Regions from separate parts of the Homo sapiens genome. Here region 1 is linked to region 2. Evidence: promoter capture Hi-C in 16 types of primary human blood cells and fetal thymus (Javierre and others, 2016). All regions are on one chromosome and are shown on one strand. Each heading gives the region's core, a stretch centred on a gene start or on the middle of the fragment in contact. The rest is flanking DNA. Distances are from core to core; before and after follow the strand shown.

Evidence for each region. The method cuts DNA at HindIII sites, captures the fragments that hold promoters and counts their contacts. A CHiCAGO score of 5 or more calls a contact.
Region 1: a contact is called between the fragment with the promoter of TCOF1 here and the fragment with the promoter of GRPEL2-AS1 in region 2, in 1 of 17 cell types (total CD8 T cells). The highest score is 7.0, in total CD8 T cells.

The regions. Positions count from the first base shown.
Region 1 is chr5:150,355,986-150,359,718 of GRCh38, reverse strand. It overlaps TCOF1 (treacle ribosome biogenesis factor 1), which reads right to left and starts at 2,022. Exons shown (of 27, transcript NM_001371623.1): 1 at 1,865-2,022. The coding sequence starts at 1,972. It overlaps LOC105378226 (a long non-coding RNA gene), which reads left to right and starts at 2,299. Exons shown (of 4, transcript XR_944407.3): 1 at 2,299-3,213. RefSeq lists silencers at 1,595-1,814, 1,895-2,234 and an enhancer at 2,835-3,004. The HindIII fragment of the contact is 5,465 bases long and covers 1-3,733 here.
Region 2 is chr5:149,355,290-149,359,405 of GRCh38, reverse strand. GRPEL2-AS1 (GRPEL2 antisense RNA 1) reads left to right here and starts at 1,764. Exons shown (of 2, transcript NR_132366.1): 1 at 1,764-1,881. It overlaps PCYOX1L (prenylcysteine oxidase 1 like), which reads right to left and starts at 1,360. Exons shown (of 6, transcript NM_024028.4): 1 at 1,250-1,360. The coding sequence starts at 1,337. RefSeq lists silencers at 1,121-1,330, 1,351-1,510, 1,531-1,580 and an enhancer at 1,306-1,600. The HindIII fragment of the contact is 3,429 bases long and covers 1,687-4,116 here.

The sequences.
Region 1 (3,733 bases), core at 773-3,272, 1.0 Mb before region 2:
CCAATGAAGATGGGTACTATCTCTTGCTCCCCTTATCTGTGAAGTACCATAGCTGCGGTAGGAAGAGCAAGTGAGGTTCAGAGAAACTGGGAAAAGCATACATAACGTCTTAGGGCCCATCACCCTTTAGTCCCTCCAGGAGGTTCTGAGAGCAAGCATTAGGAGCAGAGCCTACACCACAGGGCAAAGGGATCTGACTACTTAGGATACTGTCTCACCAGTTCAAAACTCTCCATTGGTTTACCACTGCTCTTCCAAGGAAGATCAAACTGCCCACCAGACCACTCCAGCCAGCCCCTGCCTCCATCTCCCCAGGGGCATCTGGCCCTTGTACTTCACACTTCAGCCACTATGGACGTTTTTTTTTTTTTTGAGATGGAGTCTCGCCTTGTCACCCAGGATGGAGTGCAGTGGCTCAGTCTCAGCTCAGTGCAACCTCTGCCTCCTGGGTTCAAGTGATTCTCCTGACTCAGCCTCCCGAGTAACTGGGACTACAGGTGCATGCCACCATGCATGGCTAATTTTTGCATTTTTAGTAGAGACAGGGTTTCACCATGTCGGTCAGGCTGGTTTTGAACTCCTGGCCTCAAGTGATCCGCCTGCCTCGGCCTCCCAAAGTGCTGGGATTACAGGCGTGAGCTACCGTACCTGGCCTGCTATGGACTTAAAAAAAATTTTTTTTTGAGACAGTGTCTTGCTCTGTTGCCCAGGCTGGAGTGCAGTGGCATGATCATGGCTCATACTGTATCCTCAAATTCCTGGGCTCAAGAGAGTGGACTTTCTCCAGGCCAGTGTGTACACAAGTTCCCTCCCACCACAAGGCATTTACACCTCAGCTATTCCTGACCAGGGCAATCTGCCATCCATCTCTCTTTTTTTTTTGAGGCAGAGTCTCGCTTTATCGCCCAGGCTGGAGTGCAGTGGCACGATCTTGACTCATTGCAACCTCTGCCTCCCGGGTTCAAGCAATTCTTGTGCCTCAGCCACATGAGTAGCCAGGATTACAGGCGTGCGCCAACATGCCCAGCTAATTTTTGTATTTTTAGTAGAAACGGTGTTTCACCATGTTGGCCAGGCTGGTCTCGAACTTCTGACCTCAGGTGATCCGCTAGTCTCGGCCTCCCTAAGTGCTGGGATTACAGGCGTGAGCTACCGTGCCCGGCCCATCCCTCTCATTCTTAACACTTATTGCGGTGCTAAGCATATAGTCACTTTTGTGATTCTTTGATTTGTCTACCTTACTAGAGTGTAAGCTCCAGGAGGGCTGAGAGATGGTGCTCACCATTCGAACACCAGGAAGCACCCTGAGTACCGGATTAACAGTTGAATTAATCAAGTAAGAAATGACTGTACCACGAGTTCGAGTACCAAAGCTGACCGTCTCAGTACAGACAATCGCTAAAGGCCTGAGTTCCAGCTCAACTAAGAGGCTGTAGGGTCCCTTTTCCAGGCGCTCCCCCGAGGGGCTGGTCGCAATCCACCCCCGAGACTCGCAGCAACCTCCTTGCCCCAGGGGGGGCCGCGCAGAGCCTAGCCACGTGGCGGGAGACTTAGGAAACTTAAAATACCCGCTACCAGGAAGGGCGTGGAGGTAAGGGAAGCGGGAATTACAAAGTTCGGCCCCTGCGAGCACACTTTCTGGCCCAACCCACTGCCCGGATGAGGAAAGTGAGGCCCAGGGGAACTGAAGTCGCAGTGGGAAGGCAGAGATTGCGGCTCCTCCGGTACCCCTGGCCGCGCCGTCGAGCACTGCGGGACCCGGCTCCGGGCGCCTGCCGGGTCGCCTGGGGACGGGGCGCGGGCCGCGGGCCGCTGATCTCCACATCTTGCACGCGGCCCTCGCACACGGCCCACGAACGCTTACCTGGCCGCTCTGCTCCTTCACTTCCCGCGCCGCACGCACATAGCCAGCCCGCAGCAGATGGTGGTAGATCAGGGGAAGTAGCTCCCGCCGCTTCCTGGCCTCGGCCATACCCGCGACCCCCGGCCGGCCGGCTACCTGCACGCCCCGCCTTAGTCCCCGCCCGCCACTTCCCTCGCGCCCTTAGACCTCGCGCGCCACACTTCCGGCTCCTCTTTCGCTCCGGCCGCGCGGCGCGCCGGGAAACGTAGTCCCCTCTCCGGGAGTGGCCGGCCCCGCCCCTCAAGGCGAAGGGGGCGGAGACTCGTGATCAACAATACCGCCCATTGGCGCGGAGCATGCGGGGCTAGACAGGGACCCGCCCCCGGGGCCGGCCGGGACTTGGACGACTCTCTTTTAATCCTTCCGGCTGGCTTCTTGAAGAGATTTATCTTCCTTGTTAATTCTCTGATGGCTGGGTCTGCGTTTTACTCATCTCTGAACTCCCTAATCTGGATCTTTCTCTAGATCCGAACTTTGTACTGCCATTACCTGCTCATTTATCCATTTCGCACGGTTTTTGGTGCCCATGAACCAGACACGAATTGCCAGTTTATTCATTGATTCATTCGCTAACTGAACAAATCTGTAATAAGCACCTAACTTGGGCTAGCACCCGGCTAGGCTAGGGGGATTCAAAAGATGCATAATACATGGCAGTTGCCCTCAAAGCTCACAGAGACGACTGTCCGTAACCAAGCAACTATAGTTCAATATCTTGTGTGCCTTGTCAGGGACAGATGCAGCCTATGGGCGCCCCAAGGAGGAGCACCGAACCCCAGAGAGATATCTAAGCTGAGGCATAAAGACACCCGAAATTGCTGGGTGCAAAGGAGAGGACTGGCAGAGGGCACTGCATGAGTCTAGGCATGAGAAAACACCCTGCTATTGCCTGGGAACCCTAAACCCAGAACCCCTAGTCTGCGCTGCTGGGCTGTCCAGGTGGGGTGGGGTGAGGTGGGGAAGAGGGAACAAATGAGGGCACATGAGGATGAAGAAGTAGACAAGGCCTACAACTCCCCCACCCCCAACAGAGTTTGGACTTTGCTCTGAGGGCATTAGATAGTCTCTGACTGGCTTTTCCGAGGAGGTTGACCCTGTTTTGTGTTTTTAAAAGATTGCTAAAACCAAAGCACATACCATTAATACTAAATGTGAGGCTGTTGTAGTTGTTGAGGGAAGGATGGCAGGGAAAAGGTGAGGTAGGCTGGAGAATGTTAGAGTGAGCTGTTCTTAACTTCACCGACCCATTGAGAATCTGAGGGCAGCATGTTTCTTACGGGCGCAGGAGTCCCTAACCCTAGGAGGTCCAGGTATGTGGTTATCTTTGTCTTGAACTTGAATGGAAAATGTTATGTGTCTGTACACATTCAACATTTCCCATTTTCTTGAGCAAATATTTATTGAGTACCTACCATTGGGGATGGAATAGTCTCTACTCCTATAGAGCTTACAGTCTAGTGATGGAATTGTCTCTACTCCAATAGAGCTTACAGTCTAACGGAGGAGACACATACTAAACTAATAGTCATACAATACAGTGTTACAAACAGCGGGTAAGTGCAGGAAGGAAAAGGATAGTGTTTTCTTATGTAATAATATAGTGTTTAAAAGCTGCACTGGAGTCACACTGCCTGGGTTCAAATTCTGGCTTTGCCTCATTAACTAGGTGACTTTGGGCAAGTCACTGTGACTCAGTTTCTTTATCTGTACAATGGAGATAATTATAATTTCTACCTCACTGGGTTGTCATAAGGAGTAAATGAATTCTCAGCAGAAATGCTTAGAGGAGCTCTGAACAATAGCGCTCTCTGTGTGCGTGTGTGCTATTAT
Region 2 (4,116 bases), core at 515-3,014:
TAGCCTCAGGATTCTCTTTTCTTGGCAAGCACTAAACTCTCAGTCTCAAACTGGTTTCTGGCATGCTTCAGTCTTCTTAACCCTGTATGGCCTGGGCTGTGGTTCTGCTACACAAGAAGCTTTAGCACTGCACTGGACCCTGTAAGTTTGTGATGCTTCTATCAGATGTTCCAGGCACTCCTGCCAACTGGGGTGCATGGAGAGTGGCCTAGCGGAATAGAGTCTTTGTCCTCCCACCCCGAAGCCCAGGATCTCTGCCTGTGGGAATATCACGTGTGAGGGACTTGAAAATCTTCACGAGTCATGTAGTTAAAATGACAGTTGTTGAGGGAGGAAAAAAAAAAGCAACTGTAAACACATATGACACTCTAGTCAATGATATGCACGATGACGTATTTAGTGAGGTGTCCTGATGTCTGCAATTTATTTGGAGATGCATCAAAATGTAGGCTGGATTCGTGGATGTCTAGAACAGTGCGTGATAGTTATGTGACACAGCAAGTATAGCAGCAGTTAATGGCAGAATGTAGGTGGTGGGTATACAGATGACCACTATAAAATTCTTGCTGTACATCTGAACATTTTCAAAATAAAGTATTGGGGAAACCACACACACAATAAACAAAAAGACTGTTGTTAAAAGTTCCCCGTTCTGTCAGCAAATCTCCAGCGGACCTAGTGTTCTGTCTCTGCCAGGACTGTCTCCTATCGACCTGGGGGTGGTTTGGCTTAGATGTTACTTCCAGGAAGCCCTCCCAGGGCCGCAAAGACAGGGTGAAGCGCCCCTCCTCTGCATGCACCGTACTTCCTCAGCTCAGCACGGACTTCCCTGTACTGTGAGGGCTCTACCCCAGCAGGAACTACAGCACCACGTCTGCTACACAGAGAGCCCTCAACCAACCTCTGTGAATGCCATCGCCCAGCCTCTCTGTCCTCTGTCACCCGGGCGCCTAGCCAACAGCCAGGACCATGGCAGATGCTCAGCGACCCTGGACCTCCCGGTGAGATCCGCGGCCAGTCCTGCCCAGGCCTCTTTTCCGTCCTAGGTGGCCCTCTTCACATGCCATGCCCCGGCCCCATCAGGACCTTCCCTGCCGCGTCCCCTTCGGCGCCTCTCCTCCACCCAGCTCCTTTTCCGAGGACCCCTCCCTCACCCAGCCGCCCTCCTATACCCCACCTAGCTGAGAACTGAGAACCCTTTACCCGCCGGCCCTCCCCAGCTGGGAACCCCACCGCGTCCTTCCCGCACCGATTTTGCCCGGCGGGGCATCTCCGCCAGCAGCGGCGGCGGCGAGGAGCGCGGTCAACGCGGCGAGCAGCGGGGCTGCGCGGGCCATGGCGGGCGGCGAGCGGGCAGCACGCCGGATTCAGGCGCTAGCGGGTTGGCGCTCGGCTCTCCGCCCCGCCCCGGCGCCCCACTGGCAGTCCCGCCTTCCTGCCGCGCCAGACCCAGCTCCGCATTGGCCAAGCCGCCGTCCCTCTCCAGCACGAGGCCCTCATTAGCTCCATCTCTCTCGGGGTAGGCTCTCTCATTGGCAGCTTCCCCGTTCCGCCCCGCCCCCCGCATGCGGGCTCCTCATTGGCTGGGTTCATTCTTGCCCGGCGCAGGTGTGCCCGCTTCGGGTCCTCAGCATCAGGACCAGGGCCCAGCTGCGGCAGAGGGATGAAACAGACCAAAGTGAAGCTTTGAAGACCTCGGTTATGTCCAGCCTCTGCGTTATTAGCTCTGTATCTTCTCTGTGTCTGTTTCCTCTATTATAACACAGACGAAGAATCCTGCTCCACCTTTCTAGGTGGTTGTAACCATCTTATGAGATAAGGGAAGCCTTTTGCAGTGTCTGCAAGTGCTGGAAATTGCTGACCAAGCATGCGGCCAGGGTGGTAAGACGCTACCTCATTCATATGCTGACACAAGCCCTATGCTTTCTATACTGCTGTTATTTATGTGTTTGCAGTTTTTATATAGTTAATATCTCTGCTTTCTGCTTCCTAAAAACCAAAAGGCGGGGGAAGGTTTCATCTACTCTCTTTTCAGAAAGGAGAAAAGGAGGGATAAACTCCCATTTTCATCCTCTAAGAAGACAAGAGCAGCAGCTCAGACTTGCTAGTTTATCACGCTGTGAAAAACAGACTTCCTCTGGCAGAAAATAAAGTTAGGGATGAGTTTCAGAATAAAGAAAATCCGGAGGCTGGGGGTGGCTCAAGCCTGTAATCCCAGCATTTTGGAAGGTCAGGCGGGAGGATCGCTTAGGCCAGCAGTTTGAGACCAGCCTGGGCAACATAATGAGACTCTGAGACCCCGTCTCTTAAAAAAAAAAAATTCGCCAGGAGTGGTGGTGCACACCTGTAGTCCTAGCTATTCAGGAGGCAGAGGTGGGAGGCTTGAGACCGGTAGTTTGAGGTTACAGTGTTCTATGATTGTGCCACTGCACTCCAGCCTGAGTGACAAGAGTCCCTGTCTTTAAAAATAAATAAATATATAAAAATAAATGAAATCCATATTTACTCAGTGAGATTATGGCTAAAATAAGAAACTGGGCCGGGCACAGTGGCTCATGCCTGTAATCCCAGCAGTTTGGGAGGCCGAGGTGGGCAGATCACTTGAGGTCAGGAGTTCGAGACCAGCTCGGCCATCATGGTGAAACCTCATCTCTGCTAAAATGCAAAAATTAGCTGGGCTTGGTGGTGTGCGCCTGTAATCCCAGCTACTCGGGAGGCTGGGGCAGGAGAATCGCTTGAACCTGGGAGGCACATGTTGCAGTGAGCCGAGATTGTACCACTGCACTCCACCGTGGGTGACAGAGCGAGACTCTGACTCAAACAAAAACAAAAACAAAAAACTGAAGTGATTCAGAGAATGGTGAAAGAGCTTATAGCTGGGGTTCTAACTCAGCACTGAGACTTAATTTACTTGGGCCAAACTGGATTACTACTAGTAAACTGGTAGATGAATAATCATGCATTTGTCATAATCTTAAACTTTTTTTTTTGGCAATGTTTGTGTCAGGATGCAACACCTTTTAAGTTCATTTCCAAAGGTTCAAGATACTCCCTTAAACAGTTTTTAAAACAAGCACTCATTGACCACTATGTGCCAAATTCTCTTATGAACTTATTCTGATTCTTGTCATTTTTTTGTAGGGTAAATCATGTTAGTGTTCAAATTCATCTTCTTGACTATACTTTGCTTGTAATTTTAGGGTCCTTTGTAACTCTTAAATCTAGAGCTGTTTTTTTCTGTTAGGAAGCCCTTCCAACCCTACTAGCCCATTGACAATGTGTGCGCTCATCAACATTGTAAGAGAGGTTCGAAAGAGCTGATAAGGGAAAAGCAAGTAGGCACAATTCTTGTGGCACAAAGGTGCCAGACTGGGAATGCAGTGGGGTGACTGTATCATTTTATCTGCTGTTGTGTAACAAACCATTAAAAAATGTAGTGGCTTAAAGTAACAGTCATCTGTTTTGCTCACACTACACCTCAGGCAGGACTCAGTGAGATCAGCTCATCTGTTCCATGTGGTATCATTTGGGGCTGCTCCACTGGGTGTGGGAGGATCCACCTTCAAGATGGCTCACTGGCTGGCAAGACAGTGCTGGCTCAGCTGAAAGCTCAACCAGGGCCCTCAGTTCCATTCCACAGGCTACTTCAGTTTGCTCTTGGCACGATGGTAAGGTTCCAGGGGTGAGCATCCCAAGACAGGAAGTGGGGATACCAGTTTCTTAAGATCTGGGTCCAGAAAATGGCAGTGTCACTTCCACTGTATTCTATTGGTCAAGCAATCACAAAGCTCCAAGGAAACTCAAGAATGGACATGGGCCCTACTCAACAAAGGTGTCAAGAAATTCTGGAGCCATGTTTTAAAACTACAGTGAACTTGAGAGCATGGACATCTGAGTGGATAGGAATAAGAATATACTCACTGACTAGCACTGGGAATATGGGACACATGGTTTATGGAGCTACAGTGTACAGACAGTATTGGAAAGATAATGAAAACGCAAGACCAAATCCCAGGGAAGGCTGGCCCAACAGAGGGCCATTCAGCCAGGAGTCTAGGTATATGGAAGCTAGCTGAGAAGCAGAGGTAAAGACAAGGCCAGGCAGTCACAAGGTGG